Linked DNA regions of Homo sapiens: regions 1, 2, 3, 4, 5 and 7 are each linked to region 6. The links are contacts of gene promoters, found by promoter capture Hi-C in blood cells and fetal thymus (Javierre and others, 2016). All regions are on one chromosome and are shown on one strand. Each heading gives the region's core, a stretch centred on a gene start or on the middle of the fragment in contact. The rest is flanking DNA. Distances are from core to core; before and after follow the strand shown. Region 1 overlaps ANXA2 (annexin A2). Region 2 overlaps RNF111 (ring finger protein 111). Region 3 overlaps RNF111 (ring finger protein 111). Region 4 holds the start of CCNB2 (cyclin B2). Region 5 overlaps RNF111 (ring finger protein 111). Region 6 holds the start of GTF2A2 (general transcription factor IIA subunit 2). Region 7 overlaps RNF111 (ring finger protein 111).

Region 1 (4,089 bases), core at 397-2,896, 700 kb before region 6:
GAGCTGCCGCTGGAATGGCTGCCCCCACGTCTTTTACAGTATATCGGGAGGCCACAAGATCTGCTTGCCAGGAGGCTGTCTGCTCAAACATCTCCTTCTTAGCAGGGGCCTTGATCTCCGAAAGCGTCCTGCCTTCCACGGAGTGTTACTGCTTTCAAGCATATTGCAAAGTGCCTGCACTCTCACAGCTTTCTTAGGAATCACATACGACTCCAGTTTCCTTTTATTGACCGGGGAAGACGGCAAAATTAACTTGGATTTTAAGGAATTTCGTTGAAGCAAAGCCTGATGTTTATGTTTCTGAGATGTGGGTCTGTTGAAGGGAATGCAGTTGAGGGCGTTTGACCCAAGACTCCGGAGTGGTCAAAGACTCACAACCTGCTTCACAAAAAGATCCCTCTTACTTTTGTTTTACTCACTAGTTTTAAAGTAAAATAAATATTTTCCTTATGATTGCCTGTTATCTTGAAGGAACTTGCATCAGCACTGAAGTCAGCCTTATCTGGCCACCTGGAGACGGTGATTTTGGGCCTATTGAAGACACCTGCTCAGTATGACGCTTCTGAGCTAAAAGCTTCCATGAAGGTAAATGCATGTGAGATGTCATCTCTGTCAAATCTGCTATTAATTTTGTGAATTACAGCTTTCTGAGTGTAATTTGGTGATTTTCAGTTTTGTTGAATTCTCATTTGGAACCATTTTTTAAAAATGAACTGAAGTTATATGTCTCAGGATTTGTACCAAAAATATTTCAATTACTTGTTTTAAGACTGTAAAGAAATTTCATGATGCTGAGAAGTCAGTTACCAGCTGCTACTACTCAGCACCTGGGCAATTGGAATACCATTTGGGAAAACTACTTCCTTGATTACACTTCCTCCTTTAAAAAGATATGTTGTGATATTAAGGCAAGAAAAAAAAACTCATAGCTTTTGTTAAGTGAAGCTTGCAAATTCTGCCCATCCTTTCGTGGGTGTTTCTTCCTCCCATACTCTCTCTGTCAGTACCATTTGTTTCAAATTCAGGCAGAATCAGAACATCATAGTGCATATAAGGGGTAATTCTGGATGAAGAATCGTACCTGAATCGTACCTGTGAGAAAGTAACTGTGAAGTCTCAATGCACGTTATCTTTTATGTTTTTCTTTTGTAAAGTTCTTTTGAACCTGGAATTTTAGGTTAAATTAAGTAAAAACTGTAGATTGGAAACCTCCTGAACTTTGTGCATACTTAAAATATCAAGTTTTTTGTTTTGTTTTGTTTTGTTTTTTGAGATGGATTTCGCTCTTGTTGCCCAGGCTGGAGTGCAATGGCGCGATCTCAGTTCACTGCAACCTCTGCCTCCCGGGTTCAAGAGATTCTCCTGCCTCAGCATCCCGAGTAGCTGGGATTACAGGCATGCGCCACTACGCCCAGCTAATTTTGTATTTTTAGTAGAGACGGGATTTCTCCATGTTGGTCAGGCTGGTCTCAAACTCCCGACCTCAGGTGATCTGCCCACCTTGGCCTCCCAAAGTGCTAGGATTACAGGCGTGAGCCACCGCGCCTGGCCAACATCAAGTTTTATATAAATGCAATAGATGCACACACATTAATGTATGTTGTACTGCAACACATTTGGACCCTTTTCTTAGTGTGGGTCTGCAGCATTTGAACAGTCCGACACTGCCCTCTGCTGATATACATGGGTAAAGTCTGCGCTGTAGATGAGGGAAACCATTGGTCTTGATTTTTTATTCCGAGTCTGTTTTCTCTGATGCCACTGTTCCTGAATTATGAACAGTCTGAGCTGTAAGCCTGTCACCAGAGCTAATGTCACAGTTCAGTTGTCATCCTTTTCCCAGAGAACACAAGAGTGAGGGTGCTTCGGACACTGGGCATCTCCAAAGCCTGGAATTTGATAGCTCAGGGCTGCTGTAAGATTTGTTGTTAAGTCTCTTTCTTCCTTTAGTTCTTCAGCTTAGCCCAAGCTGTGCTCAGTTTATTTTAGCGGACTTGTCTGAGTTTCCTAAGTAGACTGTACTGCAGAAAAGACGTCATTAAGAATGATAAAATGTCGACAACATTTCATGATCCTGGTTGATAAAAATAGCGCTCCTGAAAACCGAGTCTGTGGACCTTTGGAGGCAGGGATGAGTCAGCCTCTCCTAGGTTTCTTCTGACCATCAACACTTCAGATCAGTTTGTCTTATTTTCATCAAGAATCTATTTAGTTGTGATTCGAGTGGCTTTACTGGTATCTATTACTAGGTATTAGGGACTTGAAACAGACCTTTTTGAGCTGTCAGTCACTGTTGTAATCTATGTAATTGGGCCCAATGGAAGGTGCTTTAACTGCTGAAGCTTTGACCCTGTGCCAGCTCTTCCATTAGCTATCACAGTTGAATACCCGTCCAAAATCCATAAAGCTTGAAGTGACATTAACTGAACTATGCTTAAAAAAAAATCTGTTTTGACTTCTGGCAGTACCGGTGGCAGTATCTGCCATATGTTACAGTAGAATTTGCCCTTGTGATAGGAATTGTGGACAGTCTGTGGAGAGTTTGGGCCGGGCTTTGGAAATTGCCAAGGTCACCTTTGAATGTAGACATAAAAACACTATTGGAATTCTCAGATATTACCACTGGTATATCAGTGATGGAAGGAAACACATCTTACATTATTCTGCCTGTCTTGCAATTCTACAATGTCAGGATATAACATTTCTCCCACTGTGTGTTATTTTTAGACTATATTTCTATCATCCTTGAGATTGAACAACTGCCTCTCAAAATATTCAAAGATACTCGGTAGTCATTTAATAACATTTGTGTAGAATGCTGTATGGACCTTTTGCTAACAAGGGGAGAATTTTTGGCTTTGCTGGAACCTCTACAAATCATGATTAAAAACTCAGAAAGAAGAGCCATTGGCTCAAAGGTTAGATGAAGAATAAAATTCAAAATTAACCATTAACCTGAGGCTTAGCTTATATTATACAAACTACTTTTTCGGGGCATATAAACGCTAATAAGTTTAATTAATAGCTGACACGCTTTTCATGTGGGTAAGTTTCTTATTGTATTAACACCTTATAATTGATTTACATTTTAAACAGTTGTAATTCTACTTAGTTCAAAGTGATAGTTCCATATTCGGAAAGACAAGTATTAAAGAATCCTGATTATTAAATCTTGACTTTGATCATGAAGCCAGCTTTGAAATACATGTTTCATTGAGTCCTTTCAAGCTATCTGACATGCTCAAAAGTGTATATATTAAATTTGAATACATCACCCATCAAATTCTTATTCCTTAATAAAGTGTTGGTGTCTAGGTTTATTTGGCACTTCATTATTTCTTTTTGCTTCCCTAAAGTGCCTGAAGAGTGCATAATTATCAAGCAAAAATGGAAGGACAAGAATGAAATTTTTAACATTAACCCAATTTTACATTTCAAAGAGTGCAGCTAAAAATTTTTTCTTAACTATACCTTTGCCTGGTAAAAAGACTTACTCTAACAATGCTGGCTGCAAGTGACAACATAAAATTTCTGTATTCCTTTATTTTAGCGAGAATTGTTTAACAAAGAAATTTCTAATCTGTTAAAATAGTGAGTGGTTATTGTAGAAAGTGAAAAATAATAATAAGAAAAAGTTACTTTATCTACCCACAGCAAAAGGCAATTGCCAGTTTTAGTATTTTGGCATATTCTATTGCTGCCTCTTCCTATTCACTACTTTTTTTTTTTTTTGAGATGGGGTCTTACTCTGTCGTCCAGGCTGGAGTGCAGTGGCGCGATCTCGGCTCACTGCAAGCTCCACCTCCCAGGTTCACGCCATTCTCCTGCCTCAGCCTCCCAGGGTAGCTGGGACTACAGGCGCCCGCTACCATGCCCAGCTAATTTTTTGTATTTTTAGTAGAGATGGGGTTTCACTGTGTTAGCCAGAATGGTCTTGATCTCTTGACCTCGTGATCTGCCTGCCTTGGCCTCCCAAAGTGCTGGGATTACAGGCGTGAGCCACTGTGCCCAGCCCCTATTCACTACTTAAAAAAAAAAACCATATTAACAGTTGAACTCCAACATGCCAGTTCCACCATCTTGTGCTCT
Region 2 (3,862 bases), core at 1,151-3,650, 600 kb after region 6:
TGTTTATATTTAAAAAGTACTGCTTCTACTTTTTCATGGCAAGTTAAAGACAATCATTATTACAAATCAAACTAAACTAGTTTGAGCTAACCTCAAACTACCACTTACAAAAATATTTTTTCCTGAGAAAATAGCTATCAAGTATTGAAACAATAACCACAAAGAATTTTATGTAAATTTACAAGCCTAGGATATCAATTAAAAACGAGATTAAAAAATCTGACAATTTCCCTGTAGTTTAATAATATATTACCAGTAAGCAGGAGGAGTTTCTAGCATATTAAGAGATTTCCTTTTATCAAACTCCTTTCATAATTTTCTACTGTTACTACTTCAATTTACCATCTTCATCAACGGTAAGGTCCACAACTTCTGCTGCATTCTGCCTCAAGGGCTGTATAACAGTAGAAATCCTACTGCGGTTCCGTGGCTCCTGTGGCCGACTTGCATGAGAACTGGAACCCTGGCTCCAATGAGATCTGGAGTGTCCAAGGGTTGAACGAGACCTTAAATGACATCAATATTAAGTTAGTAAATATAAATAAAGAATTTTTAGTCACCACAAAAACCCATAAGCCTTTCTTACTAAATGTTAAGTTTTTCATACAAGATTTCTCCAAAGAAATAATCGTAATTAAAAATCATGACTGGCACTCGGTAAACTAATTGACCTAAGAATATAAGAAATACTATGTTGTACCAATCATTAGTGTAAAATACAGGATTCTGTTTCAAGAATGCTACTCTCTCTTCCATGGTTACTTTTGAGAATTTACCCAGGTTATAATAAACTATTTACATTTTCTGTTAATAGCTAAAATTACTCACCATAGGTAAAGGAATAAAAATAACACCCTACACATTTAATAATATCCACAAGGTCTTGTATGTTTAGCTCAGGATAGATTTGCAAAACATTCCTTTGGGAGTCCTAAACCAAGCTAAGCTTCTAGTATTGCCATAAAAGAAAACAAAACAAAAAAAATAAACAGGCACCAGGGAGATTTCCTGATGTGTAGAGGTAAGGACATTGTGGCTAGTTTACTAGTTTGGTAGCCCTAAGAAATATTACTTGCGTGAGCTAGTTTATGCTTCTAAAACACGTGACTGTGAACCCTAAACATCTAACTTCATTTAAGTATGTGTGTGGCATTACACTGTTCTAAATTTACTTACAGGTGTATATACTTTGAAGGACTCACTATAATGATTTGGACTAAGGACATACAGGGATAATATGTAGAATATGCAGTCCTAAGGCTCCAGGATAAAAAAATAAATCTTTTAGAAAGGTGAGGCCAATAAAACACAAGGGCTTTCTCCTGTTCAAACTAAATATAAAACTGCTTATAACCTTATTGTCAGCATTTACAGAAAATATCTGTAATATAAAAGGTCATTGGGGGTGGGTGCTTAACCACTAAGAAGAGAACTCCAAAGGTCAAAGTGGGCTGAAAATGGCCTCAACATTTTCAGCCCAACTTGAACTTCAACGATTATAGAACCCAGAGTTTAAAAAGTTCAAATTCTAAAATAAAATTCTTAAGAAGGAGTATAAAGTTAATTACCGAGCCACTGTCAACATAGGATAGTACATATCAGAAACAGTTGTGGTATAGCTTGAGCCAAGATAGCCATGTCTTGGGATAAAATGGTTTTGTATGAGGAAAGATACCACCATTTAAAATTCTTGAAAAATCAAGAGTCTATGATGAGACTGAGTAGTCTATTATCTCTGGGAAGCTGTTAATAGCTGAAGGAAGTTATAGGTCCACTTTGCAGTACTTTTGTGAAAGCATCATATTGTACTAGATGGAGCAACTGCAAAAAAACATGAATGTATGAGGAAGTCTCAAGGAGGTATTAGTGGCCACTATGATTAGTAGCAACTGTCAAATCCTGACACAAAAGACTCTAAAACAAAGAAATACTCTCTTAAATGAAAGGGCCAGGCCAGGCGTGGTGGCTCACGCCTGTAATCCTAGCACTTTGGGAGGCCGAGGCGGGTGGATCACAAGGTCAGGAGTTCGAGACCAGCCTGGCTAATATGCTGAAACCCCGTCTCTACTAAAAATACAAAAAAAATTAGCCAGGTGTGGTGGCTCATGCCTGTAATCCCAGCTACTCACAAGGCTGAGGGAGGAGGATTGCTTGAACCCAGGAGATGGAGGCTGCGGTGAGCCAAGATGGCGCCACTGCCCTCCAGCCTGGGTGACAGAGGGAGACTCTGTCTCAAAAAATAAATAATTAAGTAAAATAAACTAAAGGGCAAAAAGCCAGCTAAACAGTAACAAAATTAATATCTCTTAATAACAATAAGAGATATAACAATGGGTCATGTACACTGTGGGTCTTTTTCAAGATCACTGCCTATTAACTCAGGTAAATGCATCTGCTTGACATCAACCATGTCCAAAACAAGATCTCTAGTCCTACAAGGAAAAATAGGTCTGTAATTTCAGTAGTCCTTACAGCTCATAAAAATTGAGTCAATGTTGTACCAAGCACTATGCACGGTCAGAGGATAGGTGTGGTACATAACACTGGTTTTCAGTTTTACTCAGAGTTGGGGAAAATAATATAAAATTAAAACAAACAAGTATATGTTATAGAATGCTCACTTCCATGCCTTTAGAAGTAGCACTTCGATGCTAAAATGGCAAGTGGAAAAGCATGTTCTAAGTGTTTGTAACAGATGTCAGAAATATGAATATATACTTTTAAAATCAGTAACATATTAACATGCAATAAGCAAATGCACTTCTAAATTCGTTCCAACACAAAAATTAAGATTCATCCGTTAGATTATTAGTTGGGTGTATCAAATGTAACAAAGCAACTCTTTATTGCTATTATTACCAATACTTATAATCATCTAAAGTATAAGATGAATGCAATGTTAGGAGTTGATATTTTGGAGGGAGAGTCAAAGTGATTCCGCAATAGGGCAATGTCTTTTCCAGTTATTTATAAAAACAGATAAGGATGTTTCATTAATGTGTTAGTTCAGAGCACCGATAAAATTACTGAGTGAAGGAAAAAGAATCAAAACATATGTTTTGAATTAGGGTGCCCTAACACAGTAACAGCACAAGTTTCACTGGTATCAATGAGTAACATATTGAAACAAGTAGATTCTAACAGAAAGGGCTATTTCAACATCAATACCCCTTAATATTTTTTCATTTTTAATTTGGTACCATCCCCAATATTTATGTATTATTCACATCTAAATTTCAAAGCAGATCAATTCTCCATATCATTAAAAAACACAATTTTATAAAACACTAAGTAAAATTATTGTTTATTCAGAGCATTAACTCTTAACTCTCATTGTATACTTGGGGTGCTTTTAAAAAGACTAACCTCTAAAATTCTAGTTCAAGTATGGGAAAGAGTCTGGGCAACAATATAGCTTTATTTTATTATCTCTCCAGGTGAGTTTAATGCAGCCTGCTTTGAAAAGGACAAATCTAGACAGGCTTAGTGACATGTGCCTACAGTCCTAGCTACTATGGAGAATGAGACAGGAGAATCACTTGAGCCAAGGGGTAGAAGTCCAGCCTGGGTAACATAGCAATATTCTATCTCTTACCAAAAAAAAAAAAAAAAAAAAAATCCACTAATCTGATATATGCATACTCAAACTGGGTCTCAAAAATAAATAAATAAAAAGAATGCAAATATCTGCAGCACAAATATGTTTAATATTTATATTTAATATTTCAAACATTTAACTAAGAATTAAAATCTCACCGATAGCTTTCTCCAACTGTTACAATCTCCACTTCACTGTCAGTTGAGGTAACATTAATTTCTTCATTGGCAGTAACCTGGGGAGTGGAGGAAGCTTCTATCACCA
Region 3 (3,647 bases), core at 49-2,548, 640 kb after region 6:
TTTTGAAATTAAAGATTTTTTAAGGAAATAAATTATGAGAACATAATATATTTAAATTTTTCACTATATTAGAACACAACTTTGTTGACAACAGATTTCTACACAAACAAATCAAATATATGCAAGCACAATTTTTACAGGAATCTTGGCTAGGCATAAAATTTCTTAAGTGACCAGAAATGACCACCAATCCTGGACACCTTAATGACAGAATAGGGCAGAAACTCAGAAATGGCAGTGACCGTTAGCAGATTTGAATGGAATTGTCAAATGTGAGAAATGATTTTTAGTTACTGATGTTAGTCTACAAATCTAGGCATGTTGTTTTTGAACCCATCTTTACAAATAAATTTTAATGCTCGAAAATGATAATAATTTATCAAACCATTTCACAAAATCTTTCTTCATTAAAAGTGTAATAATTATGATTGCTGCATTAATGGAAAGTAGTCTATAAGAGCTCAACAAATAGGCCGGGCGTGGTGCCTCATACCTATAATCCCAGCGCTTTGGGAGGCTGAGGCAGGTGGGTCACCTGAGGTCAGGAGTTCGAGACCAGCCTGGCCAACATGATGAAACCCCGTCTCTACCAAAAATACAAAAAATTAGCTGGGCATGATGGCAGGCGCCTGTAATCCCAGCTACTCGGGAGGCTGAAGCAGGAGAATCGTTTGAACCCAGGAAGTGGAGGTTGCAGAGAGCCGAGATTGTGCCATTGCACTCTAGCCTGGACAACAAGAGCGAAACTCCATCTCAAAAAAAAAAAAAAAAAAAAAGAGTTCAACAAATAATGTAACAAACCTGGAAGACAAACCTCCAGGACCTTTTGTTCTTGATAATTCAAGTAATAAATCTGTCAACTTTCAAAGCTTCAAACTTACAAACTACTCTTAGAGATTTCTGTTATTTTAACTTCCTGTTTCCAAAACTGAACTTTAAGTGGCTTCCAGATTTCCTTGGAGATTGGAACTGAAGAGTTCTCTCTTTTAAAGTGATAGAAGCCAAACCTAAAGACAATTGATGTTTTTATAAATATACAGAAAAGATGGCTGCTTCAACATGTCTTCAAAATTTAACAATCTGTAACAGGTAAATGTAAAATTAAACCATATTTCGAAATAAGCTCTTAAATCTTTACAGCAGCACATTTTACATACTGAACTATTAATTTTTTTGTCAATGCTATTAAATGGCTTGGTGTTTCTCTTATGAATAAGCATTGTCACATATGCTGAATGACGCATTTACGATCTCTGGAAAATCAAACTTAAAAATACAAAAATAAAAATTATCGTGGCCTACACAGCAGCGGTTTCCAACCTTTTTGGCACCAGGGAACGGATTCGTAGAAGACAATTTTTCCACAGACCCAGGGTGGGGGTGGGTGGGTGTGGTTTGAGATGATCCGAGTACATTTATTGTGCACTTTGTTTCTATTATCATTGCATTGCAATATATAATATTATACAATTCACCGTAATATAGAATCAGTGGGAGCCCTGAGCTTGCTCTCCTGCAACTAGATGGTCCCAACTGGGGGTGATGGGAGACAGTGACAGATCATCAGGCATTAGATTCTCGTAAGGAGCAAGCAACCTAGATCCCTCACATGCAGTTCACAATAGGGTTCATGCTCCTACAAGAATGCCGCTGCTGATCTGACAGGAAGCAGAACTCAAGCAGTAATGTAAGTGACAGGGACTGGCTGTAAATATAGATGAAGCTTCACTACTCATCCACCACTCACCTACTGGTACATGGCCTAGTTCCTAATAGGCCACAGATGGGTACCAGTCCGTGGCCCAGGGGTTGGGGAACCCTGCTATACAGAACTCTTTGGAGAAAACAATGTCACTGAAGCAGTGAGCACATCCTTGTGAGAGGCAGGAAATACTGTTTGAAATAGGTAGGGTAGAACAAAATTATGGTGGGCCGAGCAAGATGAAAAATGTTGACTAATATGGTATATGCTCAATTATTCAAATAATTACAGAATAACTACTTTATATGCTGGATCTGTGGGCAGAGAGAGAAAATACAGGTTCCCATCCTTCAAGAAGCTCACAATTTAGGATGATGGAAAGAATTACAGAATATAAATAATTAGGCCAAAGTGGGCAGATCACGAAGTCAAGAGATCAAGACCATCCTGGCCAACATGGTGAAACCCCATCTCTACTAAAAATACAGAAATCAGCTGGGCGTGGTGGTGCGTGCCTGTAGTCCCAGCTACTCGAGTGGCTGAGGCAGGAGAATCGCTTGAATCCAGGAGGTGGAGGTTGCAGTGAGCCAAAATCATGCCACTGCACTCCAGCCTGGCAACAGAGCAAGACTCTATCTCTAAAAAAAAAAAACTATATATATATACATATATATATTTTTTAACCAAAATTGGCCAGGAGCAGTGACTCATGCCTGTAATCCTAGCACTCTTGGAGGCCAAGGTGGGCAGACTGCTTGAGCTAGGAGGTCAAAACATGGCAAAACCCTGTCTCTACTAAAAATACAAAAGTTATCTAGGTGTGGTGGGGTGCACCTGGAGTCCCAGCTACTCAGGAGGCTGAGGTGGGAGGATCACTTGAGCCCAGGGGCAGAGGTTGCAGTGGGCCAAGATCACGCCACTGCACTCCAACCTGGGCGTGAGAACCTGTCTCGAATAAATAAATAAATAACCAGAATACGTTATAAACATGCTATAAATAAAAGCACTCTGTAGGAACAAAACGAGGCAATTAAGGACTCTGATAATGGCTTCATAAAGAAAGTCACATCCAAGTCAAACCATGAAGGATGCACAGGGTGACGGTGGGCGAAGAATATTCACTTCAAACAATGCTAAGAAATGGCAACATCTAAATACTCTAATGCTTGGGGCTGTAGGTTCTTTTGTTCTTTTTTTTTTTTTAGTAGGGGAGAATAAGCTAGGGTCAAATTATCAGAGTGAGGGATTATAGGTTTCTGTTTAACCTAGTTTTAGGAAGACTTTACCTGAGGAGCTGAAGGGAACAGGCTAGAGGGAAAGTCAGAAAGACTACGGAGGAAGCTCTTACAGTGATGGGGGCAAAGAGTAGTTTTAGCAGTTTCACCACATTAACATGCCAATTGTGACTAACAATATTATCTCCATTTTTATTAAAATGCATAAAATATTTCAATACTATTGTAAAACTATATGTGAATTCATAAGAATGATAAAATAAAAATTTAGAAACATACAAAACACAAAACATGACAATATCTCTAACATGCTAGTATGCAAAGAAAGCCTTCAAAATGATAAGGAAAACATAAGTGACTTCTATCTTATCCATCATATTTTATTTTTATTCTTTATTTCCCTTTTATTTTGAGAAAATTATGAAGAAAAATATCAGAATTTAAAAAATTCGACTTTGGTCCTAGTAAGTACTGATCTAAAACTAAGGCTAAATAGCAAAGGCCAAACTACAGAATTTTAAAATAACAAGAAATTGGGTGGCGAGGCACAGTGGTCAGGCTCACACGTATTATCCCAGCACTTACGGAGGCCAAGGCAGGCAGATGGCCTGAGGCCAGGACAAGACCAGCCTGGACAACATGGTGAAACTCTGTCTCTAAAAAAATACAAAAATTAGGGGAGAGTGGTGGCGCACACATGTCCCAGCTAT
Region 4 (4,143 bases), core at 837-3,336, 550 kb after region 6:
AAGGACAATACGTCAAGATCTATTTGCAAGATGGAAAAGGTACATTTCAGGAAGTCTAAAAATGCTATTTGTGATTAATAACATCACTCTAAATTAGGCAAATCACCCATCTACTTTATCCGTAATAAAGATCCTCCCACTAACCTTGCAAAGCTATTCTGAGTATTCAAGTGGGCCTGTAAGAGAACTTCAAAGCTTATTAGTATTTAATGATTATTTCTCATATAGTACCCATATCACTTGTTAGAGATCCCTGCAAGTTAAAGGCATATATTTAAAAACCTTCCTTTACAGAGCTTGGTAAAAAGTAAATTAAGATGAAAAATAATAAAGCTATAATATTAATAGTTAATAATAGGTCTGGTTGTTTAAAAACCAGATGTTTAAAACCTAAACTAGCTTTGATTCTTATGCCATTTCACAAATAAGAAATGCTCCTGTATGCATGATCTTTTAGAACTACAGCTTTTTAAAATGAGGTTGCCATAGAATGGATTTTCTCTTATATTAAGGACATTTAGAATGGAAGTAGTTTTCTTGAGTAATATAGTTTTAGCTCCCAAACTCAGGGAAGGTTGGAATTGTATGAAATAAAAATTGTCAGTTGACCTTAACCTGCTTTAGACATAATGTGCTTGGAAATAAAACTTGCTAGGAAAAGCAACTCATACCAAAAAAAGTTTATTATAGAAGTGATAAACATTTCATTAAAAAAGAAAAAAGCAAAAAACCAGCATGTCCTATCCCTGAGAGTTCAGGGTCCCGACTCTAATAAAACTCCCAACAAGGGGTTTGAGTGGATCTACCAGGCAGAGAGAGGGGCCAGGGAAACTCAAGCCTTCCCTGAACAGAAAGGTTTTGACTATTAAATAACGTTATAGAATACATTATTATAAAAAATTACTTGTCAGTTGGACTTAGATCCACAAAAGGATATTAATTAAATGCTAAATGTATTCAATCTATTAGGATTCTCAAAAGTCACACTTCAATTTCTTCCAGCAGCAACTGCCAATCTGAAAAAGTGTTTGAAAATGTAATGCTTATGGGTAGAAGCCTGGTAATGTGACTCAATTTAAATTCATCTGGATAGGAAAATTGGCAGCTTTTATCTAACCTTATAGCCAAGATGATGGAACTCAGGTGTGTCAGGGCCCTCTAGCTTTCGGCAAAGGAAAAAAGTAGGTCCCGGTACAATTCAAGCCCACAGGAAAAATACCCAAAACACCATAACACTTTGATCTCTGCAAGGATGAAATAAATGAATTTGGACCCTTTTCTCTCAGTCTGCCACATTGGTCCAAATTATATTCAAAAACCTCTGTTACATTTGAGTAAAGAAATTAATTTTTTAAGGGGACAAACCCATTTATTAGTGAACGTAGCATGGAAGACTTAGCGTGCCGAAATAAATGGGAAACTCATACAAAAAGAAATGTGAACAATCTGAAAAACAGCCTGGCAGTTGCCTGATGAAACACGCCGTACACTTTACTGCCTACAGAACCCTTCCAGTCCTCCTCCCAGCCGCCATCACAGGTCCCTTAGTTGGCAAGGAGTTGTAAGAAAGGGGGAGGGAAATCCCAGGAACGTGGAAGTAGATAACTCTCTAGCAATGAAGAGCACTCGGGGATCGCTCGCTGAGTACTAGGCCTAGTGCTCTGGGGGCTCACTTGACAGGCGCCATCTCGGAAGCGCTTTCCTACACTTCTCCCACCCCGGGGCAGGGAGGGGTTAGGGGAGGGCGGAATCCAGACGGGGAAAGGCGGGCCGGAGAGGACCGGCCGCAGGGCCAGGGACGCGGGCGAAGCAGTGAGCTCCGGAGAAGAGAAAAGCAGCCCCGGTTGGGACGGAGAAGCTCGGAGCAGATGAGAGAAGCGACAGGGGAGCTGTGGGGCCGACGGACTCGCCTCTGAGAGCGGTCCCCGGGCACACTCACCGTCGGGCGTCGGAGCAGCGCCATGAGGGACGGGGAAGGCAAGAGTGCCAGCCCGGCCCAGGGAGGGACGCGGACTGAAAAGGGAGGACACTAGCGTACGAGGCGCCGTTAGGACTGCTCTCCGAGCCCGCAGCGCTGGGGATCTTCGACGCTGTAGCCTTGTTCCAGGATTCAAATACCGCGTCGCTTGCGCCCCATTGGGCGGCCCTGCGCACGGGTCGCTGTTCTCATTGGCCAACACAAGATGCACTCTCGCACTCTCATTGGCTGAATTTTCTTAGACACGTTTGATTGTCACAACAGCCGGTTGGGGTGTTTTTTCTGCCTACAGTCTTTTAAAAAAAAAAAAACCCCAGTCTCTGAGACAAACAAAAAGGAACTGTCTCATTGGGAAAGCAGACGTAGGACGCCTCTGAATTTTGACAAGGCCTCATCTACGAATTTCTCTCGACGTTTGTAGTGGGTGGGCGGAAGTTGGTTGGCCTTTATTCCTCTTCTGGTGTGTTGGGGTTTAAGTTGTGTTGGCCTGGGTGCAGGAACCGGCCCCTCCGGGTTGCTCAGGGATGCAGTGTGTTAGGTGGTTGAGATGCAAAAGTGTGCTTAAAAAAAGAGAGAATAATGGCGTTTACTCAAAAACCCAAATTCTCAAGTAAGGCAAAAAAAAAAAAAAAAAGATAAAAGAGATTTGTGTGACTGGTGATTCATGTAAGTTCTCCATTGTATTCCCAACACCTAGTACATCGTTTGTCGTATATGGTTGGTGCTCAATAAATGTTCGTCTAATAATCAGCCCAAGCAAAGAATTCATGTCTAAGACCCCAAAAGCAAATGCAACAAAAACAAAAATACATAAATGGGACCTAATTAAACTAAAAAGCTTCTGCACATCAAAAGAAATAATAGACAACCACAGATTAAGAGAAAATATTTGCAAACTATGCATCGGAAAAAGGCCTAGTGTCCAGAATCTAGAAGGAACTCAAATCAGCAAGAAAGAAAATAATGCCATCAAAAAATGGGCAAAGGACATGAATAGATATTTCTCAAAAGATATTCAAATGGCCAACAAATACATGAAAAAATGCTCAACATCACTGATCATCGAAGAAATGCAAGTTAATACCACAAGGAGATACCACCTTACTCCTGCAAGAATGGCCATCATTAAAAAGTCAGAAAAAAAGGCCGGGCGCAGTGGCTCACACCTGTAATCCCAGCACTTTGGGAGGCCTGTTGGGCAGATCATTTGAGCCCAGGTGTTCAAGACCAGCCTGGGCAACATGGCAAAACCCCGTCTCTACAAAAATACAAATATTAGCCGGGTGTAGTGGTGAGCACCTGTAGTCCCAGGTACTGGGAGGGGGGCGGGGGGCGGGGGGCGGGGGGCCGTGTGTTGGGGCAGGAGGATCCCTTGATCCCATGAGTCTGAGGCTGCAGTGAGCCATGATTGTGCCACAGTACTCCAGCCTGGGCAACACATTGAAACCCTGTCTAAAAAAGAAAAAAAACCTCAAAAAACAATAGTCAAAAAACAGTGTAGGCGTGGATGTGGGGAAAAGGGAATGCTTAAACACTGCTGGTAGGAATGTACAACTTCTATGGAAAAAAGTATGGTGATTCCTTAAAGAACAAAAAGTAGTTCTACCATTTGGTCCAGCAATTCCACTACTGGGTATCTACCCAAAGGAAAAGAAGTCATTATATGAAGAAGACACTTGCACATGTATGTTTACAGCAGCACAATTCACAATTGCCAACCTAAGTGCCCATCGACCGAGTGGGTACAGAAAATGTGGTATATATACACCATGGAATACTACTCAGCAATAAAAAGGAACAAAATAATGTCTTTTGCAGCAACCTGGATGGAGCTAGAGGCCATTATTCTAAGTGAAGTAACTCAGGAGTGGAAAACCAAAAACCGTATGTTTTCACTTGTAAGTGGGAGCTAAGCTGTGAATATACAAAGGCAAACACAGTGATATAATGGAATTTAGAGACTCAGAAGAGGGAGGGTGGAAGGGGAGACAGGGATAGAAACCTACATATTAGATAAAATATACACTACCTAGGTGATGGGCACACTAAAATCTCAGAATTCACCACTATATAATTCACCCACATCACAGAAAGCCACTTATATCCCAAAAGCTACTGAAATAAAATTTAAGTGTATTAATTAAAAAATATTCATCTAATAAATG
Region 5 (3,974 bases), core at 1,024-3,523, 660 kb after region 6:
GGAAATGGCACACAATGACATCAGAAGTAGTCAGGGCCAGATCAGGTAGAGCCTGTAGGGAACTGTGTGCCACATTTTTATTTCATTTTATCTTTACTAAGAACTATAGGGAACTGAAGATTACAGAAGTGACTTGCCTAAGACCTGATAGCAAAGCCTGGATCTAAATGACTATCTAAGTTGTTGAGTTTGGTCACTCTCTCTCTTTTTTTTTTTTTAATTAAATGCACAGTTATGAGGGCTTTCACTCAGAACTTCAGTTCCCATGACTACTTTTACATAAGATTATTACATATGTTACTCAACCGTACTTCCCGTATTTACCATGCAGATTTTCAGGAACTTGTCCCTCACATAAGAATGTTCTAATAAAGCATGGTAACTGCTACAAATAACAAAGTACCAAATACCATGGGAAAACGGAAGGGACAGCTATTAATTCTAAAGGAAAAACCTGAAAGAAGTTTAAGAGTTGATCTTTAAAAGTAAAATTTCAAGTGGAGAATAAGGATAAGGATACATCAGAGAAATGGCGGGAAGATAGTCAAGAAAATAGAATGGTGAGTTTTAACCAACACTATACAGTAGTCTCCCCTTAACCACAATTTACTGTCTACGGTTTCAGTTACCTATGGTCAACCATGGTCCAAAAATATTAAAGAAAAAACTCTAGAAATAAACAGCTCACAAGCTTTAACCGCTTATGAATGCCTACACAGTGCCCATGTCATTAACCTCATTTCGCCATTTTATCATCATTTTCCGTCATCACAAGAAAGGTGAGTACAATATTTTGAGAGATGACATTCACACAATTTTTATTAAATATAGTTATAAATTTTTTTATTAGTTATTGCTATTAATGTCTTACTCTGCCCAATGTATAAATTAAACTTTATAATAGGTATGCATGTTGTGGCTGTTAAGCATCTACTGGGGGTCTTGGACTGTATCCCTCATGGATAAGGGAGGACTACTGTACTTAGTTCTTTAAACATGATTTCATAAAAAATAAAATAAAATCCCATGATAATGTATGTTTTGTAGGTGTTCTGTAACAAATCTTATATCACATGATTTTCTTCACTTAATAAAAGTATTAAGTATTTTCTATTAAAGAACCTAGCTGTCAAAATAGACTTAGTCTTCCTAAAGTGAACCTATTCGCCAAATGTGGAGAGCCCATTTCCATGTCACTAATATAACTTTTTCCTGGTAAAACTGTCATGATTATCAAAAGCAAAAGTTCACATTTTTTAAAAACATGGTAAGTTATACAAGACCTTTATTTCAAATCTCCCTCCAATCCCCACTAAACTGATAGTAAAAAGAATTTTTTTTTAATCAACAACAAAAATAGGAACTAATAGCAGGCAAAGTAGAGATGGCAATAGAATCCTGTTACCTGATTGACAGGAAATCCAGAAAAGAGAAGAGAGGTAAAAAATGGCTAAGAAGTTATCAAAGGCAATGTAAATATTTCATATAACTGAAGAACATGAACCCTTCATACCTCTGTTCTCAGAGACCACCATTCTCCTCCTCACCTACTCCACTAAAGCCCCAGTAGTTTCTAGGCTATTTCTCAAGCAGGTCAACCATGCTATGGCTAGTCACGCTGCCTTGAATGCTCTTCCCCCAGATAACCACGAGGCTCACTCATTCACTTCCTTTACATCTGTGTTCAAATGTTTCCTTATCCATGATACCTTCCCTGACCACCTCACATTAGTAGTTAATACCAACATTAAAATTTTTGTGGAAAGGCAAAAAAATAAAAAGTTAACCCCACCCTCTATCTTCCTTTTCCAGCTCACTTATTTCCACAATGACCATCTACAACTTTGTTTCCCCACCAGAGCAGATTTCGTTTTGATCACTACTATGTGCCCAAAAGCTTAGAACACATATTTGGCATTCAATAGGCATTTGCTGAATTGTTCTTTAAAATAATCAAAAATTCTGACATAACTGAAAGATGGGATGAAAGGAGAATAGTGGGCTCATCTACCATCAAAAATTGGTTAATTCTCTGCAGCAGCAGTTATCTTTTTTTTTTTTTTTTGAGACGGAGTTCAGCTCTGTCACCCAGGATGGAGCGGAGTGGTGCCATCTTGGCTCACTGAAACATCTGCCTCCCAGTTCAAGCAATTCTCGTGCCTCAGCCTCCCGAATAGCTAGGATTATAGGCGCCCGCCACCATACCTGGCTGTTTTGTATTTTTCGTAGAGACAGGGTTTCCCCAAGTTGGCCAGGCTGGTCTCAAATTCCTGACCTCAGGTGATCCGCCTGCCTCGGCCTCCCAAAGTGCTGCAATTACAGATGTGAGCCACCAGGCCCGGTCCTGAGGTCCTTCATAATCTTAAAAATGGGCCGGGTGCCTAGCAGTTTGAGATCAGCCTGGACAACATGGTGAAACCCGTCTCTACTAAAAATAGAAAAATGAGCCAAGTGTGGTGGTACATGCCTGTAGTCCCAGCTACTTGGGAGGCTGAAGTGGGAGGACTGCCTGAGCCCAGGAGGCAGAGAATGTAGTGAACTAAGATCTCACCACTGCACTCTAGCCTGGGTAACAGAGAGAGACCCTGTCTCAAAAAAAAAAAAAAAAAAGGGAAAAAAAAAATCACTGGAAGATCTGAAAAAGCTTTTATTATATGGGTTATATCTACTGATACTTATTGATATGGTCTGGATCTGTGTCCTCAACCAAATCTCAGGTCAAAGTGTAATTCCCATTGTTGGAGGTGGGGCCTGCCTGGAGGTGACTGGATTATCTGGGCAATTTCTAATGGTTCAGCACCATCCCTTTGGTGCTGTTCTCATTATGGAGTTCTCATGAGATGTGGTTTTTTAAAATTGTGTGGCACTTCCCCCTTCTCTCCTGCTCCTGCCATGTAAGACACCTACTCTTGCTTTGCCCTCTACCATGAGTAAAAGCTCAGAGGCCTCCCCAGAAGCAGATGCTGCCACGCTTCCTATAAAACCTATGGAACCTTGAGCCAATTAAACCCCTTTTCTTTATAAATTACCCAGTCTCAGTTATTTATAGCAGTGTGAGAACGAACTAATACCCTTACCCTATTAGAAAGTAAAACTCATAAATGCTTTAAAATGTATTATTTTAAAACTGCAGTAATAGGCCGGGCACAGTGGCTGACACCTGTAATCCCAGCACTTGAGGAGGCTGAGGTGGGCGGATCACCTGAGGTCAGGAGTTCGAGACCAGCCTGGGAAACATAGTGAAACCCTGTCTCTACTAAAAATACAAAAATTAGCCGGGTGTGATGGTGCATGCCTGTAATCCCAGCTACTCGGGAGGCTGAGGCAGCAGAATTGCTTGAACCTGGGGGGCGGAGATTGCAGTGAACTGAGATTGCACCACTGCACTCCAGCCTGGGTGACAGTGTGACTCCGTCTCAAAAACAAACAAACCCCACTGCAAACCCATTATATCTAATATAAGTAACTTTTATTAAAATATTTTCAAAACTTTAATAAGAGCGGTAATGCTATACATTTTTTGCAAATCTCTCTAATGACTAGCTTAACAGAAGAAAACTGGATTGTCACATCTGCATCTGTATTCCATTTATCATGATATGCTGTTCTGGTTAAATTATAAGAAAATCCAGTTTCACACAAATATGTAGTTGAAAAAGGGAGTAGTATATTTAATAACCTTTTCAGGTAAGTGTGGGTGTTATTCCTCTTTGATACTACCCCAAAACTTTACAAAGGCAGTTTGAACTTAATTGCAATGTGGAATTTGAAACCATATCAATGAAACCTCATACTATCAGTGAAAAAACAACTGCTCGATACTGCACTTTACATAGATCTTTCACCCAGACATGACTTTGTAACATCATGGTCATCTGAAAAATATTGTTTCACCAAGTTACGCACCTCTTTCAAACATGACACATTTCATTATGTAACAGTAAAAAAATAAATTTTGTTAATAACACAACCAA
Region 6 (4,036 bases), core at 464-2,963:
AGGAATATAACTTGTGTCTTGATTTGTTGCACATCATATTTTTTGCAACATTAATGAATTTAAATAAATTAATTGGAACGTTCGTCTTTGTCTTTTTATCACATTTTTCTTTCATTATGCTACTAAATTTTTGCTTTGAATTATCCTATAAACCTCTTAAATAATTTCAGACCTTTACACTTGTTTCCCTTTCTATAGTCTAAGTGCTTCTATTCTTTGGGGATTAGAGAGTTCAGCCTGCTTTATTTTAACATCAAAACAATAATGAAACTTTGTGTTTCATAGTTGAGATTTTTTTTTAATTAATGGGGAATCCAAGGATGAAACCATGAGTGGCTTAAAATGAAAACATGGCTTTTTTTTTTTTTTTTTTTTTTTGAGACAGTTTCGCTCTTGTTGCCCAGGCTGGAGTGCAATGGCGCCATCTTGGCTCACCGCAACCTCCGCCTCCCAGGTTCAAGCAATTCTCCTGCCTCCGCCTCCCGAGTAGCTGGGATTACAGGCATGCACCAACACGCCCAGCGAAATTTTTTTTGTATTTTAGTAGAGACGGGGTTTCTCCACGTTGAGGCTGGTCTCGAATTCCTGACCTCAGGTGATTCGCTCACCTCGGCCTCCCAAAGTGCTGGGATTACAGGCATGAGCCACCGCCCCTGGCCGAAAACATGGCTTAAATAAGAAGAACTTGTTTAGTTCATAGACCTGCTCAGAGGTTCCAGCTGATACCACTTGGTGTTTTTTGTGGTTTTGTTGTTGTTGTTTTGCACATACTCTTTAATCACTATTCAGCTATTTTGTAGGATAAACTGCTCTACACATGACTGCTGGGTTTAAGCCAGTTAGTGTACCATGCACCCTGACACCTAAAACAATTTGTGATTTTGCAAACTTGAAATTTATAGTGAAGTATTTATCTTGCATATTAGATGCAAATTTTAAATATAACTTCTCCCAAATTAAAGTTCTTCATGAACTGGTCACAAACTAAAAACTTTGCCTGCAGCCCTGTTTCGAGGGGTAAAGAAGATACCCTGCTTACCCTGCTATAATTTTTTTTTTTTTTTTTTTTTTTGAGACGGAGTTTCGCTCTTGTTTCCCAGGCTGGAGTGCAATGGCGCGATCTCAGCTGACTGCAACCTCCGCCTCCCAGGTACAAGCCATTCTCCTGTCTCAGCCTCCCAAGTAGCTCGAATTACAGGCATGCGCCACCACGCCTGCCTAATTTTTTGTATTTAGTAGAGACAGGATTTCACCATATTATGCTGGTCGCGAACTCCTGACCTCCGGTGATCGACCCGCCTCAGCCTCCCAAAGTGCTGGGATTAAGGCGTGCGCCACCGCGCCCGGCCCCTGCTATAATCTTTTCAGAATTCGTCTGCAAGGTCTTCAACACTGTTACCCTGAACACACTTCCGGCATGAAATATGAATGCCCTACATTTCTTAAATTGTGCATCTAACAATGGAGAAGATTAGTCTCTAAAAATTATAATTCCCTTAGGAACGATTTAGTAAACCTGGTGAATTACTCGAGCAGAGCGCCTGTCCACCACTTTAAGGCTTCAAGCTCCAGCCCGACGCCCCTCCTTCCCTCTCCACGCCCTTCCCTGACAAGGCTTGAGTGGCGGGCGAGAGCAGGGCTGGGCGGGGCCTCCCGTCCCTCGGGCGGGGTGTCACTTCCAGGTTCCGCGAGCACTTCCGGGTCGTCAGCTCAGTTCTGCGGTTTCTGCGGCGGCTGGAGAGGTGGTCGGAGAAGTAGGAACCTCCTGCCGGGCTCGTGGCGGCTTCTGTCCGCTCCGCGGAGGGAAGCGCCTTCCCCACAGGTAGTGGGTTAGGGAGGGCAGGGTTAGGGAGGGAAGCAGGGCCGCGCTCCCTGCCGCCCCCCCGGAGTCGGAGTGCGTTGGTGGGGTAGTCTCTGAGGGCCCTTCGCTCCTGGGATCTGCCCGTTACCGACCGTTGCCGGCAAGGCCCCGCGGCCGGCACCGGAGAAGGGCGGCGAGGCGGCGGTGATGGTCGCGTCCCGTGGCGGGAGGCTCGTCGTTCACGGGGCGCCCACAGAACCCACCTAGGGGAGGTCTTCAGCCCACCACCGTATTTTCAGCCAGGTGAATGTCTTAAAGCATCCACTAGCGCCCTGTGAGTTTTGCCGAATTTCGGAGAGCATTTTTTAAATGTCTCATTCCTGTGCTTTGTAGCTTGTTGTTTGAAGTCTGCCTTCCAACTTTCTTCGTGCGAACTCCGACAAAAGGAACGAATTTTAAACTTGGTGGTTTAATCAAAAAATGCTAGGACGAGTTACTTCCGAATTTGACTTCTAATTTTCTGAACTGCAAAACAAGAAGGGAACAATAAATTTCTGTGGCTGATACCACATCTAAAAGATTAGAACACTTAACAAGGAATTTTTAAAGAATGTAAGAACATTGAAATCAGCACTTTTAACAAACGTTTAACGCAGGGCTATTTTCTAGATAAACTCAAAAATTTGTCAAATGGGACACGATGCACGATTCTGTATTCCTACTCTGTGGAGTTTTTATCTACCTATTGGGACTTCTTGCCCTTTTTAACCCCCTCTCCCCTCCCACACGCATATTATACTTACTGATATTTGCCTTCGTTTACTGAACAGATTTTTTTTTGGCTCCTATTGTGTGCCAGGTACTGTTCTAGACGCCTATTTTACTTAAGTGAACAAAATAAAAAGCTTTGCCCTCATGGAGCTTACATTCTATTAGAGGATGCAGAAAATAAAATATATAATGGTGTTAGAAAGTGATGGTGCCATCAAAAAAAAAAAGAGAAATATAAAGGAGTACGGGAAAGTTCCAGAGTGGAGGTGGGAACTGGTATTTTAAAGATGACGGTGGTCAGTTTGAGCCTCATTTAGTAGGTGTTATTTGAGCAAAGACTTGAAGGAATTAAGAAAATTTGCTAAGTAAATATCAGGAAGAGCATTCAGGCAGATAGGAAAGCCAATACAAATGCTTTTAGGCCTGTCATGTTTGAGGAATAGCAAGGAAGCCAGTGTATCTGGAGAGGGATGAGCAAGAGTTTTGGGGGTGGAGGGACAAGAAGATAAAGTCAAAGAGATCATGGTAGCCGGATCATTGTAAAGGCTGATAGAAGCCATGGGAGATTTTGAATAGAGGAGAGGTATGTTGTAACTGAAGTTTTAGAAGATCACCCTGGCTGTGAGTTGTGATTAGAGTGTAGGGGTGAGTGTAGAAGCAGGGAAATCATTTAGGAGATTTTTGCAGTAATCCAGATGACGAGAGTGGCCCAGGTCAGGGTGATAACCGTAGGGATGGTGAGAAGTGGTTGGATTCTGAATGCATTTTGAAGGTAGGCCTTACAGTATTTGCTAGGAATTGGATATGGAGAGTGAGATAGAGGGAGTGGAGGATGAAATCAAAGGTTTTGCCCAAGCTCGTAGAAGTATGGAGTTCTTTAAGCCACGATGCAAAAGATAACAAATAGAGATGTTGAGTAGGCAGCTAGATTCAGGAGTGAGAAGTTCTATGCTATATGAATTTGGGGATCATCAGCAGTGGTACTTAAACCATGAGAATAAATGTTATCCGTAAGGAATGGGTGTAGACGGAAAGCAGCAGAGGCCTAAGGACTGTGTCCTGTGATATTAAGAGTTTAGCGAAAACGGGATCAACCAGCAAACAGTATTAAGAAGGATGAACTTGTGAGTTAGGACAATCCGAAAAGGGCAGTGTCCCAGAAGCCAAGGTAAGATCCTGTACGAAAGAGGAGGGAGTAATCAGCTGTGTCCAATATTCTGAGTGAGGCTAGAGAATTAGCTTTAGCATTGCCATTGATGACCTTCACCAACCTGTTTCCTTAGAGTGCTAGAGGCAAAAATTAGCTTAAGAGAAAATAGGAAAAAAGGAATTGGGAGACAGTGAATACAGACAAAACTAAGGGATTTTGCTGCAAAGGGGAACTGAGAAATAGGATGTAGCTGGCAGGGGATTTGGGTTGAGGGGTTTTTGTTTTGTTTTACTTTTTAAGGTGGGAGAAGTAGC
Region 7 (3,668 bases), core at 611-3,110, 570 kb after region 6:
TGTGTGAACTGACCCACAGGCTAAAATTTACTTGTAACCCCATAATCAACACTTGTGCTTTCAGAGTCATTCGTGGATATGACCGGTGGCAAAAAATTGCAGTTGCCCAACATGCAACTCTGTTCCCAGCTGAGGTAGAACAGGGCTCTGCCGTATTTGAGCTCCTACTATAAACCAGTGTCTTGTTTGCAGACTGTTTAGTGCCACGTTTTTCACAGTTTTGTGCTTTTTGTTGGTGATTGTGTTGTTTAAAATGGCACCCAAGCATAGAGCTGAAGTGCTGTCTAGTGTTCCTAAGCAAAGAAGGCTGTCATACACCTTATGGAGAGAATAAGTTTCATTCACGCATGAGTTACAGTGTTGTTGGCTATGAGTTCAATGTTAATGATTCTACAATATTTTTTAAAGTTGTCTTTAAGCAGAAACACACATAAAAAAGGTTATACACTGATTAGTTGTGAACAGAGGTTTGCAAGGGTCCCATATTTGCTAATTCAGTGTTTGCAGCAACTGTATAGATCATAACTGCCATGCATAGTGAGAGTATTAGGAAAGGGCATTTCTGAGATACAGCACCATTCTTCCATCTTTATAAATAAATCTCTGACATTACTTTTTAATTAGCCTACACTGAATCACAACATACTTTAAGCAGAATTTATAGCTTTAACGGACACTTCATATGTGGAAAAGAATTTAAATAAGCAATAACTTTTAACCTTCAATAGCCTATTACTTAAATTGTTTACAACTTTTCTTATAACCAAGATCATTACTACTCAGCAGATAACCCAACCTCCTAAACATCTTCAAAGAAATCGGAAAGGAACTCCTGCATCCCAAATTATCTAAATCTTCACTTACCCTGAAAAGCCTCTCCTCCCTAGTCTCTTTCCTCCAGCCTTTATGGATGAGCTTTTCTCCTATTCGAACTCAATCCTTATCACCCACTCCTCCCTTCACCTGTTCACCCTGGGTCATGCTTACTTCACTACTTCCCACCAAGCCTCTCTCTCTTCAATATCTTCAAACAATTCCTCTCTAATGGTTTTCTGTCTTAAACCTGAAAATACCTTAAGTTTTTCCAAACCTAAATTCTCTACTAATCCTGGAATTACTGCCAACCAAATAGGGGTTTCCTTCACTTTCCCTTCACAGCCAAGCTTATAAAGCAAGAAGGCTATATTCACTGTCTCCATGTTTTCACTTCCTTACCGTACGTAATCTAAGAGGTGCCCCATCTACATCACTCACCATTACTGAACCATTCTGACACAAAAGACCAATAACCACTCTACTGCCAAATGCTTTCAATACTTTTCAAACTTTATTTTTTTGTGATGACACCATACTGACCATATTACAGTTCACCCTTGAACAACATAAAATGGGTTTGAACTGCATGGGTCTGCTTACATGTAGATTTTCTGCCACCTCTGCCACCCCAGAGACAGCAAGATGAATCCCTCCTTTTCCTACTCTTCAGCTTACTCAATGTGAAGACAATAAGGAAAGAGACCTTTATAATGATACACTTTCACTTAACGAATAGTAAATGTATTTTCCCTTCCTTATAATTTTCTTAACATTTTTTTCTACTTTATTGTAAACTATCATTATCTATTGTAGACTATCATTATCACGTACTTATAACATACAGAATATGTGTTGATCAACTGTTTATTTTAGCAGTAAGGCTTCCGATCAACAATAGACTATTAGTAGTTAAGATTTTAGGAACTCAAAAGTTATACTCTGATTTTCGACTGTGAGGAGGGTCAACACCCCTAACCTCTGCATTGTTCAAGTGGTAACTGTATTTTCTGATATTATTTTAACTGTGTTTCTCAACTTTTCAAGCCAGTTCTCAGAATCCTTTGTTCAAAGCATAGTATTATCATTTAAATACAGTATTGTCATTCTCTAAGGTTTTTTCACCCTCTTGTCACTCTGCACATTTTTCCTGAAAACCTAATCCTCTTCCATGGATTCATTACCTCCATATACTGACAGATCAAAACATATCTTTAACCCAAATATCTTTGGAAATCCAGACCACAGGCTTAACTTCCTATTGGACATTCAACTTTCATAGAGATTCAGTACATCCAAGACCTAACTCACCTAACCCCTTCACCCAAACCCTAAATATCTCTCAAATGTGTATCATCATTTTTATGCCAACTACAATTGCCTTCATTCAGGCATTCATCAATATTTACCTCTTCTACTATAATGTCCTAACTGGTTTCCCACATTTACATCTATTTTTCCACATAACTGAGGAGGTGATCTAACTATAATCTGATTAAATAACTCTAAAATCATAAATTTGATCAGGACATTTCCCCTTCAATGGTTCCTGAGTTCCAGTTTCTTGGTAGAACAGTTTTATTTCTCACTGCTGCCTGACCCTCACTCCTAAAATTAGAAACACCAGCTTACTTGGAGTTCCCAGTGCTTGTGCTATTTGCTACATCTTTACATGCTGTAACCTCTGCAAGAGCACCATTCCATAATCCAGTCTGCTTAGAAGTCACATGTACCAGAAAGCTTCTCTGAAAGCTTTCCTGCAGTGCCTCTACCCACAACAACACAAAACTATTCCCTTTTCTGTACCATTTATATAACAAGTATGTAATACAAACAGCAAACGCAATGTATGTTTTGCTGAACTTGTCCTTTAGCACTTTACAAAATCTGAACCTGCTTAAATCAGATGTAGAGAATTAGTATAATCTTTCTGCAGATTAGAAAATCAGGCTGGGTGCCCTGGCTCAAGCCTGTAATCCCAGCACTTTGGGAGGCCAAGGTGGGCAGATCACTTGAGGCCAGGAGTTTGAGACCAGCCTGGCCAAATGGTGAAACCCCATCTCTATTAAAAATACAAAAATTAGCCAGGCATGGTGGCACGTGCCTGTAATCCCAGCTACTTGGGAGGCTGAGGCAGGAGAATCACTTGAACCCAGGAGGTGGAGGTTGCAGTGAGCTGAGATCATACTACTGCACTCCAGCCTGGGTGACAGAGTGAGACTCTGTCGAAAAAAAAAGAAAAAAGAAAATCAAGTATGACTGCATCAGAACGGATCTATTACCACTTACGGCAAAATAACTGAAGCACAGTATACTCCTGACAGTGGATTAAGAGTATCTTGGTATACAAAAAACCCCACACTTTTTTGTCATGTCGTACATTAAGAGTACATGTTATGATGCAAATTATACGTGCAGATTTTAATACATCTAATACCTTTTTATAGCACAATTTTAGCTAACAAGATTACTCTCAAATTCTATTAAAACATCTATATTAATATAGTGAAGTATTTCCAATAAAATACTTAGAAAAGGAACTTTTAGAACATGTCAAAATTTTGAAAATTTTCCATTTTACCATTAAAGGAAGAGCTCCTAATTGTAAGTGATGAAGTCGAGGAGGTGCGTGATAATGGGCCAAGTGAGGATGCAATGCACCAGGTGTATAAGTAGCTGCAGTCACTCCAGCTTCAATTCCCAGTTCCCTAACGAAAGGATGAGAACAGTTTAATCCTCCTTAGGGTCTCTTTTTTATCAACAGACATGGGGAGTTATGTTTACACTTAAAAAAGTAATCTAAGGTTTCTTAACTTACAAAGCTGAGGAAAGATAATTTAGCCCAAAATATTTAA

The links. Contacts are between HindIII fragments. The CHiCAGO score rates a contact against its expected background, and 5 or more counts as called.
Region 1: a contact is called between a fragment that was not itself captured here and the fragment with the promoter of GTF2A2 in region 6, in 1 of 17 cell types (M2 macrophages). The highest score is 5.1, in M2 macrophages.
Region 2: a contact is called between a fragment that was not itself captured here and the fragment with the promoter of GTF2A2 in region 6, in 4 of 17 cell types (monocytes, erythroblasts, total B cells and 1 more). The highest score is 6.8, in monocytes.
Region 3: a fragment that was not itself captured here is called in contact with the fragment with the promoter of GTF2A2 in region 6 in 1 of 17 cell types (monocytes); the score reaches 6.5 in monocytes.
Region 4: the fragment with the promoter of CCNB2 here is called in contact with the fragment with the promoter of GTF2A2 in region 6 in 1 of 17 cell types (monocytes); the score reaches 5.4 in monocytes.
Region 5: a fragment that was not itself captured here is called in contact with the fragment with the promoter of GTF2A2 in region 6 in 1 of 17 cell types (neutrophils); the score reaches 5.1 in neutrophils.
Region 7: a contact is called between a fragment that was not itself captured here and the fragment with the promoter of GTF2A2 in region 6, in 1 of 17 cell types (monocytes). The highest score is 5.4, in monocytes.

The regions. Positions count from the first base shown.
Region 1 is chr15:60,357,437-60,361,525 of GRCh38, reverse strand. ANXA2 (annexin A2) reads left to right here. Exons shown (of 13, transcript NM_004039.3): 5 at 472-585. Among named protein-coding and RNA genes, the nearest start is that of ANXA2, 39 kb to the left of the region's middle. The HindIII fragment of the contact is 1,397 bases long and covers 948-2,344 here.
Region 2 is chr15:59,052,326-59,056,187 of GRCh38, reverse strand. It overlaps RNF111 (ring finger protein 111), which reads right to left. Exons shown (of 14, transcript NM_017610.8): 3 at 3,757-3,862; 4 at 343-506. Among named protein-coding and RNA genes, the nearest start is that of CCNB2, 51 kb to the left of the region's middle. The HindIII fragment of the contact is 2,904 bases long and covers 949-3,852 here.
Region 3 is chr15:59,014,883-59,018,529 of GRCh38, reverse strand. All of the region lies in intron 1 of RNF111 (ring finger protein 111), which reads right to left. Among named protein-coding and RNA genes, the nearest start is that of RNF111, 29 kb to the right of the region's middle. The HindIII fragment of the contact is 854 bases long and covers 872-1,725 here.
Region 4 is chr15:59,103,089-59,107,231 of GRCh38, reverse strand. CCNB2 (cyclin B2) reads right to left here and starts at 2,086. Exons shown (of 9, transcript NM_004701.4): 1 at 1,940-2,086. The coding sequence starts at 1,963. RefSeq lists an enhancer at 2,274-2,563. The HindIII fragment of the contact is 2,621 bases long and covers 198-2,818 here.
Region 5 is chr15:58,998,800-59,002,773 of GRCh38, reverse strand. The region is part of intron 1 of RNF111 (ring finger protein 111); the gene reads right to left. Among named protein-coding and RNA genes, the nearest start is that of RNF111, 13 kb to the right of the region's middle. The HindIII fragment of the contact is 747 bases long and covers 1,900-2,646 here.
Region 6 is chr15:59,655,192-59,659,227 of GRCh38, reverse strand. GTF2A2 (general transcription factor IIA subunit 2) reads left to right here and starts at 1,713. Exons shown (of 5, transcript NM_004492.3): 1 at 1,713-1,822. BNIP2 (BCL2 interacting protein 2) reads left to right here. Exons shown (of 10, transcript NM_004330.4): 10 at 1-82. RefSeq lists an enhancer at 1,677-1,906. The HindIII fragment of the contact is 4,994 bases long and covers 1-2,708 here.
Region 7 is chr15:59,085,512-59,089,179 of GRCh38, reverse strand. RNF111 (ring finger protein 111) reads right to left here. Exons shown (of 14, transcript NM_017610.8): 10 at 3,395-3,521. Among named protein-coding and RNA genes, the nearest start is that of CCNB2, 18 kb to the left of the region's middle. The HindIII fragment of the contact is 1,390 bases long and covers 1,166-2,555 here.